Regions from separate parts of the Homo sapiens genome. Here region 1 is linked to region 2. The links are contacts of gene promoters, found by promoter capture Hi-C in blood cells and fetal thymus (Javierre and others, 2016). All regions are on one chromosome and are shown on one strand. Each heading gives the region's core, a stretch centred on a gene start or on the middle of the fragment in contact. The rest is flanking DNA. Distances are from core to core; before and after follow the strand shown.

What was found. Contacts are between HindIII fragments. The CHiCAGO score rates a contact against its expected background, and 5 or more counts as called.
Region 1: a contact is called between the fragment with the promoter of STX4 here and the fragment with the promoter of ATXN2L in region 2, in 1 of 17 cell types (monocytes). The highest score is 5.2, in monocytes.

The regions. Positions count from the first base shown.
Region 1 is chr16:31,029,856-31,035,240 of GRCh38, forward strand. STX4 (syntaxin 4) reads left to right here and starts at 3,703. Exons shown (of 11, transcript NM_004604.5): 1 at 3,703-3,980; 2 at 4,158-4,259; 3 at 4,371-4,470; 4 at 4,607-4,681; 5 at 5,115-5,185. The coding sequence starts at 3,951. RefSeq lists enhancers at 3,027-3,538, 4,051-4,561. The HindIII fragment of the contact is 4,602 bases long and covers 2,274-5,385 here.
Region 2 is chr16:28,820,185-28,825,924 of GRCh38, forward strand. It overlaps ATXN2L (ataxin 2 like), which reads left to right and starts at 2,815. Exons shown (of 22, transcript NM_007245.4): 1 at 2,815-3,374; 2 at 5,182-5,218; 3 at 5,440-5,496; 4 at 5,586-5,657. The coding sequence starts at 3,076. It overlaps LOC124903672 (a long non-coding RNA gene), which reads right to left and starts at 3,858. Exons shown (of 2, transcript XR_007065042.1): 1 at 3,710-3,858. RefSeq lists enhancers at 2,094-2,830, 2,342-2,551 and a silencer at 2,872-4,021. The HindIII fragment of the contact is 7,883 bases long and covers 1-5,740 here.

The DNA.
Region 1 (5,385 bases), core at 2,453-4,952, 2.2 Mb after region 2:
AAAAATACAAAAATGAGCTGGGCGCGGTGGTGTGCACCTGTAATCTCAGCTACTTGGGAGGCTGAGGCAGAATTGTTTGAACTCAGGAGGCGGATGCTGCAGTGAGCTGAGATCGTGCCACTGCACTCCAGTCTGGGAGACAGAGCGAGACTACGTCTCAAAACAAACAAACAAACAAACAACAACAACAAAAACAGAGATAAGGTCTTGGCATGTTGCCCAGGCTGGTCTCAAGTCCTGGGCTCAAAGGATTCTCCTGCCTCAGCCTCCCAAAGTGCTAGGATTACAGGCGTGAACCACTGCACCCACCCTACTTTTTTTTTTTTTTTTTTTTATACAGGATCTCACTCTGTCACCCGGGCTGGAGTGCAGTGGCAAGATCACTGCTGACTGTACCCTTGACCTCAGGGACTCAAGTGATCCTCCTGCCTCAGCCTCCTGAGTAGCTGGGACTACAGGAGAGCGCCAGCACACCTGGGTAATTAAGATTTTTTTTGTAGAGACAGACGCTATGTTGCCCAGGCTGCTCTCGAACTCCTGGCTTCAAGTGATACACCCTTGGCCTCCTAAAGTGCTGGGATCACAGGCATGAGCCACTGCACCTAGCCTAATATAGTTAATATCCCCGTCAAGGCTGCTCAGAGGGCCTGAGAGGAACAAAGGGCTCAGCTCTGGAGAGCTCCACCCCCAGCGCCAATCTCTCTAAATGGCCTCTTTCCTCTCCATATTCCACCACAAGGCTTGGAGTCCAGCTTCCTGTGACCTTAAGTCACCATTCCAAAGCCCTGCGATCTCACCCAGAGACCACAAGTGAAATAATATTATAATCCTGAGAAGTTTAGTGGACCAAGATGGCATGCCATCAAGACGCTGAGAAACAAAGAGGAAGATGGGACCAGGGGGCCCAGAAGACGCTGGAACCCACAGTATTAAAAGCTCAGAGAGGCTGGGCACAGTGGCTCACACCTGTAATCCCAGCACTTTGGGAGGCCAAGGTGGGTGGATCACTTGAGCCCAGGGGTTTGAGAACAGCCTGGGCAACATGGCGAAACCCAGTCTCTACCAAAAAATATACAAAAATTAGCCAGGCATGGTGGTGCGTGCCTTAGTACCAGCTACTTGGGAGGCTGAGGCAGGAGGATTGACTGAACCTGAGAGCACACCACTGCACTCCAGCCTGGATGACAGAACCAGACCTGACCTCAAAGAGAAGAAAAAAAAAAAAAAAAAAAAGCCCAGAGGGGAGGGTACCCTCAACAGTTTTCCAGCCCCTTCCACATCCTTCCTAACCTCACTTGATAGTGTTCAAGTCCTACCTTAGGCAAGGCAGAAATTATAGGACCAAGCCGCCAAATGGGGAAATTGAGTCCCAGAGAGAAGTAATGCATTATTTAAGATCCCATGCAGGACTATGAGTCAGGGGTCCAAGAGCCCTTCCACCGTGTGCCACTCAGAGACACAGAGTAGGAGGGGGAAGGGGGTCGGGTGGCAGGGGACAAAAGATGCAGGAGGCAAGCAGCAGTGACTGAAGAGGCAGAGGCTGACATGAAAGACCCAGGAGCAGAGAATCTTTCCTTATCATCTCCAGGGGACACCACTGGGCAGGGCTTGGCCTCCGGAAAAACCCTGCATTCCCTCTGTGGGTTCATCAGGGCACCACTCTCCTACTAGCTGGGTTTTTTTTTTTTGTTTTGTTTTGTTTTTGAGACAGAGTCTTACTCTGTCACCTAGGCTGGAGTGCAATGGCGTGATCTCAGCTCACTGTAACCTCCACCTCCCATGTTCAAGCAATCCTCCTGTCTCAGCCTCCCAAGTAGCTGGGATTACAGGCACCTGCCATCATGCCTGGCTAATTTTTGTATGTTTGTAGAGACAGGGTTTCGCCATGTTGGCCAGGCTGGTCTCCAACTCCTGGCCTCAGGTGATCTGCCTGCCTCAGCCTCCCAAAGTGCTGGGATTACAGGCATGAGCCACCACACCCTGCCTGAGCTGGGTTTTAACAGGAAGAGGAGAAGAGCCAAAACTCCTCACATAGAATCACACAGCACTTGACAGTTTCCAACCTCATCATCACTGAAGTTTAGAGCAGCCGATACCCATAAAGATGATCTCCCCATCCCCCTACAGTTACCCACTGTGCAGAGGGAGATCCACACTTAGAGACAGGAAGCGATTTCCAGAAGTCCATAGCAACTCAGTCCCAGGAATCTAGGTTTCCTGACCAGGGCATAGCAGAAAGGGTCCATTCCTTTCCTTGCTTGTACCTTCACAGAAGCTTCCTGGACAGAGCCCTGGGGTCCAGGAGACCTGTTATTCATTCCCGGCTATGCTGAGACTTGCTGAGTGACCTTGGGGACTCCTTCTAGAGAATATAAGTTCCACGAGTGCAGGAATTTTTGTCTATTAGTCCTTGATGTATCTCCAGCCCTAGAACAGTGTTTGGCCCATACTATGTGCCCAAAAAATATCCATTAAATGACTGAATGTTGCTGTGCATGGTGGTGCATGCCTGTAATCCCAGCACTTTGGGAAGCTGAGGCAGAAGGATTGCTTAAGCCCAGGAGTTAGAGACCAGCTTGGACAACATAGTGAGACCGCATCTCGTAAAAATTTTTAAAAATAAAAAATGAGTGAATATCTAGATAGCCAGGATTAGAGAAGTGTCACAGTCAGAAAGCCTGAAGCCTAAAGAAGACCAAGGAACCAGGGGCTTTATCCTCAGATACATGAAAGCCTGAAATTCTGTCCACAAGTATTTATAGAGGGCCCGTAATGTTCTTGGTACTGGGCTAGGAACTCCCCAGATTCAGTTAAGAACAAAGTCATTACCTGGCCTCAGATGCAAGGCAGGGGCTGGGGGGTGTGAGTGGCAGGGAGGCAGCGTGATCAATACAAACACTTTTCTTAGCCTGAGCTGCCCTGACATGGTCTGACGGCTCACAAGGTGGTGAGTGCAGCCGGGCTGCAGTGTTCAAGGAGGGCGCCGGCTGGCCGCCCACCTGTCAGAGGCTGCGCCAGAAGGATGCGGAAGAAGAGATTTCTGCCTTGGCTGAGGTCACTTCCCACCCCCAGATTCCCTGCCCACACAACCCTGCAATTTTCTGACGCTGACGACTCGGATCCTATTATTTCCCGATTTTCAAGGTCCCATGATGCTGACAGCCCCAAATGCTAAGTCGTCAGTCCGCCCACGCCCTGGACCCGAAAGCAATAAAGGCGAGGTCAGCAAGGGTCCTACCACCCACTGCCTCGAAAGGCCTCTGGGGGTGGTCGGCGCGCCCCTCCCCACCTCGCGGGGGCCGTGTGGGCGTCGCTCGGTCGTTGGGGTGCCGGGGACGTCGTGATGAGAACGGCGTCCCAGAGACGGCGGTGACAGAGCCGGGACACGTGACAGTCACAGGGTCACATTCTGCGGTCCACGAGTTTGGGACCGGGCTGGTCACGTGACGCGGTGGGGGCACCATGGGGTGATGTGAGATGCGGGTGTCTCGGATTACGTACAAATGACGTATTCCTACCCCTTTTGGCAACCAGATTTCCGTTGGAAGATGCAACGGTTCCGGTGACGGTAGCAAGTTCTCGCGTCCAGGCATCTCCGCTTCCGCTCGGGGCGCAACAACTTCCGACTCCACCTTCCCAGCCTCGGGCAAGGAAGAGACGCGACCATGTGCGCATGCCCCGAATTTATCACGGAGGGGCGGGGCTGAGGCTGCGGGAGCTGGAGCGGGGAAGAAAAGGGAATTCCAACCTGTGGAACCTTGGGGGGTCCCCGGGGTCGGCGCCTTCCCATTGACTGTGGGCGGTGCAAGGGACGGAGCCTCTGGCGGCTCGTGGGGGTGTTGGGGTCCGCAGGGGGAGGGAGGGGAGTGTCAGAGTGTGAGCGGGGTACGGGAATTCCAAATTTGAGGGCCTCCCGGCTCTGGCGCCGGGGAGGGAGAGCTCAGGCCGCCATGCGGGACAGGACCCACGAGCTGAGACAGGTGAGACGCCAGGGCAGCGGGGATGGGGACGGGCGGACGAACTGGAACGCAGGACTTCTGGTCTTCGGGATAGGGAGGGGTGGCTGATGGCCAGGAAGGAAAGTCCCGGAAGCCTGTGGGTCCTGCGGGGTAAGAGCCGCAGCGAAACGGTGGTGCCAATGACTCCGGGCCTGGCAGGGGGATGACAGCTCGGACGAAGAGGACAAGGAGCGGGTCGCGCTGGTGGTGCACCCGGGCACGGCACGGCTGGGGAGCCCGGACGAGGAGTTCTTCCACAAGGTAAGGGGCTGGGGTCTCCGCCTGGATTCGCGAGGGTGTAGGAGGACCCGAGGAGTAGCGTGGTCTGGAGTACCCCATATCTCTTTCAGCCCTCTCGGTCACCCTCCCCAGGTCCGGACAATTCGGCAGACTATTGTCAAACTGGGGAATAAAGTCCAGGAGTTGGAGAAACAGCAGGTCACCATCCTGGCCACGCCCCTTCCCGAGGAGAGTGAGTGAAACCCCGGCTGCAGGGCGCATGCTCCGCCCCAGGGATTGTGGGGGTTGTAGTTCCACGCAGGTGGTGGCCAGAGTGGTTTGTTGAGGTGGGGGCTGCTGTTTGGGAGTCTTGGCCTTCTCTTATTCAGGCATGAAGCAGGAGCTGCAGAACCTGCGCGATGAGATCAAACAGCTGGGGAGGGAGATCCGCCTGCAGCTGAAGGGTGAGCTCCTGGGACCTCAGACAGATCCTTCCCTCTGATCCTGCCCTGTTGTTGGTATATCTGGGGAGTGTGTGGCCCAGAGAAGCCAGTGATATATCCAGGTCACACAGCAGGCCTGGGTCTAGCATCTGTCTCCTGGCCTCCAGGCCATTGTACTCTCCACAGCACAAGTCCGCCTCTCAGGTTCTTTTATTTACAATGAAACCATTTACTTACACAGTTATCGCTGCCCACTGGGCATTCTTTGGGCAGGGAGATGGAGTTTTGTTAGGTGGCCTCTGCATACCTATGGGAACTCAGTGATGTAATGCAAAGAAAAATAAACTTACTTTCTCCTCTTAGAGGCTCAGCCTTAGTCATTTTATGATAAATTATATTTCCCTAAAAATCCTATGGAGACAAGTACCCCCAATACCCCTGTGTCTTCCCACAGCCATAGAGCCCCAGAAGGAGGAAGCTGATGAGAACTATAACTCCGTCAACACAAGAATGAGAAAAACCCAGGTGGGTTTTTTTTCTCAGAAATGAGGACATTTCAGCAAATGTTTCATGAAGTATTAGATGACAGGTGTATGAAGGAAGGGCCTGCAGAGATCATGGAGTCCAATTGGATGACTTTTCCAAATGGGGAAACTGAGCTCAGAGAGAGAAAGAACTTGCTCAAGGTCAGGAAGCCAGGTCTCCTGATGCTCAGTCCGGTTATA
Region 2 (5,740 bases), core at 1,565-4,064:
TGCCAGCATATGAAACCCCAAGTCAAAGGTCAAACCAGGGACTTGAATCTGTCAAGTCATTCACGCCTGGCCCTCTTCCAAGTGTACTTTACTTCCTTTCATTCCTGCTCTAAAACTTTTTAATAAACGTTCACTCCTGCTCTAAAACTTGCCTCTGTCTCTCCCTCTGCCTTATGCCCCTTGGTGGAATTCTTTCTTCTGAGGAGGCAAGAATTGAGGTTGCTGTAGACCCCATGCAAATTAGCTGCCACTAGCAAGGGCAAGGCAAGCTATGGAGAAAGAAGTTTCATGGGGCTAAAACTCAGAATTTGAGTGTGGAGCAGGATGGGGTAGATGGAAGGGGGTTAGAGTGCTCAGTGCTCACAATCTGTCAATGAGGGTAGAGAGGTGGCATGGCATCAGGTGGTCCAGGTAATGCCAGGAAAAAGCTGGACTGTGTTTGTTAGGGAACCCAGGAGACATGATGACCTTTAAAACACCATTTGGGCTGGGCGTGGTGGCTCATGCCTGTAATCCCAGCACTTTCGGAGGTCGAGGCGGGTGGATCACCTGAGGTCGGGAGTTCAAGATCAGCCTGACCAACATGGAGAAACCCCGTCTCCACTAAAAATACAAAATTAGCCGGGTGTGGTGGTGCATGACTGTAATCCCAGGTACTCAAGAGGCTGAGGCAGGAGAAACGCTTGAACCCGGGAGGCGGAGGTTGTGGTGAGCCGAGATCGCGCCATTGCACTCCAGCCTGGGCAATAAGAACAAAACTCCATCTCAAAAACAAACAAAAAAACATCATTTGGATCCACTCACCTTACAGATATTTCATTGAGTGCCTGCAGTGTGCTAGAGTACTGCAGAGCAAGAAATAAGTCAAGATCCTAACCCTTAGGGAGCTGACATTAGCAGGAAGACAGAATTAAAGGAGCTGTTAGAATACAGTGGGATAAATTGCTCGGCGAGCACACAGGAGGGGAAACTAGCACATCTGAAGGCAGGAGCGAGGCAGGGCGAAGGACTATTACCCAAAAAGTAAGGCAGTGTTGTAGCTAGGTGTGCATGTGTTTGGTGCAGGGGCTGGGAAGAGTTCCAATGCTAACATTTAGAGCGAAGAGATTGAGACATTGAGAGTTTCGCTGGGATTAAGACCACATGGACTTAACAGCTCCACTCCATTCTCCACGTTGCAAAGAGTAAACCTTTAAAAATGCAAATCTGACCTCTTTTCACTTGTTTTTTTGTTTGTTTTGGGGGGAAGGAGTCTTGCTCTGTCACCCAGGCTGGAGTGCAGTGGTGCGATCTGGGCTCACGGCAACCTCCGCCTCCTTGGTTCAAGTGATTCTCCTGCCTCAGCCTCCTGAGTAGCTGGGATTACAGGCATGCACCACCACGCCTAGCTAATTTTTGCATTTTTAGTAGAGACAGGGTTTCACCATGTTGGCCAGGCTGATCTCAAACTCCTGACCTCAAACCTCCCAAAGTACTGGGATTACAGACCATGCCCAGCCTCTTTTCACTTTCTTAAATAAGCTCCCCACTGCTTTGAGGATAATGTCCGTGTCTCTTACAAGACTTGGGAGCCTTTAAAACCTGATCCCAGATTAGCTACCTCTTCCCCCCTTTAATTTTATGCTTAGGACAAGCTGAGTTTTTCTTAGTTTGTCATATCCTATTTCCCTGCCTAGAAACCCATCTCCCCCTGCCCTCTTATCAGTTTTTTTTTATAATTTAAATTTTTTTTTTTTTGTAGAGACAAAGTCTCACTTTGTTGCCTAGGCTGGTCTCAAACTCCTGGCCTTAAACGATCCTTCTGCCTCGGACTCCCAAAATGTTAGGATTACAGGTATGAGCCACTGCGCCCGGCCCTCCTGTCCCTTATCTGGGTCTCCCAAAACTGGATTAAGATTAGGTGTCACTCCCATTTGCTCTTGTAGTCCTCTGTGCTTCACCTACTAGATCTCGTCAAATTCTCTGAATTCACCACTAGCATGAACTCCTCCAGAGCAGGAAGCAGTTTAATTATCCTTGTGTCCAAAACAACTAACTGAATACTCCAATGCCCAACTCATTTTGAATGAATGAAGCTGCCTTCATTGCAGGGTCGGGTGGAGGATTTTGAACTCGGAACTTTGGCCTTCAGTCTTTGTTATTACAGTTTAAAGATTCATTCTCGGGCATGGAGGAACAATTTAGGTCAAAATCACAAAAATCTGAAATAATTTAGGACGAGGCGTAAATTTATCTGCAAAGATCAACACGCTCAAACGAATCACTAATGCTCATCAGTCTTTTACTTAAAGCAAACAAGGTGGAGGGTAGCTCCTTGCGAAACCTACCACCTGCCTAAAAGCGCAGTGGCTCGGGTGGTCCAGTCCCGGAGACTTTCTTGGCACTTAAGGCTCTGCCCACGGGCCGCCAAGTGGCGGAAGAGCCTCACGCACGACGTGCCGCCTCACACTCCCGCGGAGGCATCGCGACGCAGCGACGGCGTGGGCGGAGAGGCCGGCCCTTCCTCTGGCGCCTTCGGCTCCTCCCCCTGCGCCTCACACGCTCATTGTGAAGCGACAGCGGCCGCCGGCTTCTAAGGCGGTTTGAGACCTTAAGACCCTAAATCCTTGGCGCGCGTGAGCGCCCGCGCCGCTCCTTACCCACTCCCAGGGCTAGGGGTGCGAGGTTCACCGACTTGATTCTCTCCCACTTTCCCGCCGGGAGCTAACCGCGCCGGTGTGCGCGGCACCTCGCGCCACTGCTCGCTCCTGGCCCCCCCCCCCCCCCCCCCCCCCCGGGAGCTCCCACCCGCGCGCTCCTCCCTCTCCGCTCCCCGGCGACGCGCACGCGCGCCAGCCCGGCTCGCGCCCTCTCGCTTTCCTCCAGCCGCGAGACCCCCTCCCCTTCCGCCTCGCGGCGCTTCCTCGCGCCGCGGTCTTCTCTCTCCACCCCCGACACCGCGGGGCTCCCCCCGCCCGCCCACGGCGGGCCCCGGCTGCCCGATCCCCCTCGCTTCCCGCGCTCTCCAGCGGGGCCCCAGCCCCGGCCCCCTCTCTCCCTCCCTTCTCTCTAATTCCCCTTCCGGACGCTGCCATCATGTTGAAGCCTCAGCCGCTACAACAGCCCTCCCAGCCCCAGCAGCCGCCCCCCACGCAACAGGCCGTGGCCCGTCGGCCCCCCGGGGGCACCAGCCCTCCCAACGGCGGCCTCCCGGGGCCGCTGGCCACCTCTGCGGCTCCTCCCGGGCCTCCAGCGGCCGCCTCCCCCTGCCTGGGGCCTGTGGCCGCTGCCGGGAGCGGGCTCCGCCGGGGAGCCGAAGGCATCTTGGCGCCGCAGCCGCCGCCGCCGCAGCAACACCAGGAGAGGCCGGGGGCAGCCGCCATCGGCAGCGCCAGGTGAGAAGGGTGGGCTCCGGGCGAGGGAGCCGCGGCCACCCAGAGGCTGTGGCTCGGTTCCGGTGGGGCGGACCCCGACCCGGCACCGTCAGGGGCACCGGCTGGGTGGGGAGTCCCCGTGAAGCTGGGGGAGGGCCCCCTCAGGTCCGAACAGGTCGGACGGAAAGGGTCCCCGGGCGGCCACCGGAGCACTGAGGGGCCGCGCTCGGCTCTCGGGGCCTAGTCAGGGCTCGCAGCCCCGGCCTTCAGGGGAGGCGGGGCGCATCCCGCCGGCGCCGTCGGAACGGGGAGTTGGGGGGGGGCAAGGAGCTGATCGGGGTCCCCGGTTCCATTACCACGAAGGGTCTCGCGGTCCCCGGCTTCAGCCAATGGGGAGTCTGCTGCGGGAAGGGGTCCCCGGCCGTAGCCAATGGAGGGGGGCGCGCGGCCCACAGTTTGGCCAATGGGGAGGGAGGGACTTGGGAGCGGGTTGCTGCCTCCCCCTTCCCGGTCTGGCCAGTAGGAGGGGAGCGAGGTGGGCGGGGGGACGGAAGGAGGGATGACTGGGAGGACTGCGGGCCGGGAGCCTCTGGCGCGCGCGCCCCCTTCCCGTACGTGCGCGTGGATGCTCGGTCTCATGACCCGGGCATTCGCGCGCCCCGGGAACACCTAGGGCAGGGACTAGTTCGTGGAGGGGCTCGTCTGGTGGCAGTGCATGAGTAGTGGAGGCCCTGCTCAGTTTTTCCTGTGCGAGTGTGTGTGTGTTAATGGAATTAAGAGTGGCAGCACACGCAGGCGCAGTGGGCTCTGATCGCTGGAGGTGGGGGTTCGGAAAGTCCCGTGGGTTTTAGTGCGCAGGCGCAGACCGGGCGAGGCCTCCCGGTGGATGGCTTTTGCGGCTGCGCTGTCCCCCAGCCCCGCCAGCGGCCCCCTCTTCGCCCTCAACCGCCGGTTACATCAGCCAGCGACGAGCAGGGTTACCTGGCGATTGGTGATCCCCGCAGAGTGGGTAACGGGCTGAATGAGTCATGAGGTCGAGGGGATGGGGTGTGGAGGGGATACCCCTCCTCCCACAGTTTTGAGGCGTCAGGCTGCTGAAAATGATTGTCTTTTCTGTTTGGGAGGTAATGTACCTGAGCTAGGTAGTTCCAAAGCTGCACTCCTGGAGCTTTTGCCCTCACAGCTGGCGTGGCTTTTTGGTTAATACTGTAGCATTGATCTGTTGGTAGCCTGCAGCCCTAGCCCCTTTCTCGTTGGTTCTTAGAGCAATTGACAACCATTGTTGATTGAGATCTTTTTGCTGGCATTTGGAGGAAATGTGTTTGCTGGCTTATTAATGTCTATTTTTTTCTTCCTCTACAAGGTGACAGTTTGAAAATCTTATTTATTGGCCGGGCGCAGTGGCTCACGCCTGTAATGCCAGCACTTTAGGAGGCAAAGGTGGGAGGATCCCTTGAGCCCAAGGAGATCGATACCAGCCTGGGCAACACAGATGGGAAATCCCATCTCTACTAAAAATTAAAAAAAAAAAAAGCCAGGAGTGGTGGTTCGTACCTATAGTCTCAGCCACTCGGGAGGCTGAGGCAGGAAGATCACTTGAGCCTTGGAGGTTGAGGCTACAGTGAACTGAGATCACGCCACTGCACCCCAGCCTGGGCAACAGAGGGAGACCCTGTCTCAAAAAAAATAGAAAAATCTTACTGATTAACAATTTTGTAGTCTAAATCAGCATCATCAGGTGGTATATACTTCTAGGATTTAACATTAATTTCATAGTGGTCTAAGAGGGCTTGAACAGACTTAAGTAATTTCTTGTTTTCTTTTATAGGGGACAGAGCACAGGAAAGGGACCCCCACAGTCACCTGTGAGTGTCTTCTCCCACCCTGTTTAAGATACATAGACCTAAAAGATGCATAATGTGGGAATATAGGGCACATTAGGTCTAGATAGAGTCTAATGTACTCAGGAGGGCTGTGGGCCCGGCACACACAAGGCAGAATGAGTAGAGTGCGGCGGGCATTTAGAAAAGAAAATGAGGTGTTGACTGATTACTCCTTTAATTCTCCCTCTTATGTTAACTGACAGGTGTTTGAAGGCGTCTACAACAATTCCAGAATGCTGCATTTCCTTACAGCTGTTGTGGTAAGTTGGTACTTAACCCCCGGGTTGTTTAAGGAACGTAATGCATCTACTTTCTGGAGACACTCTTCTTATTTTTCCCACTCTGCCAGGGCTCCACTTGTGATGTAAAGGTGAAAAATGGTACCACTTATGAGGGTATCTTCAAGACGCTAAGCTCAAAGGTCAGTGTACTCAAATTTAATTATTTTTGGAGTTGCAGAGTAGGAGGAGAATGAAATAGGCTCATTGAAGGTGTCAATTGGGT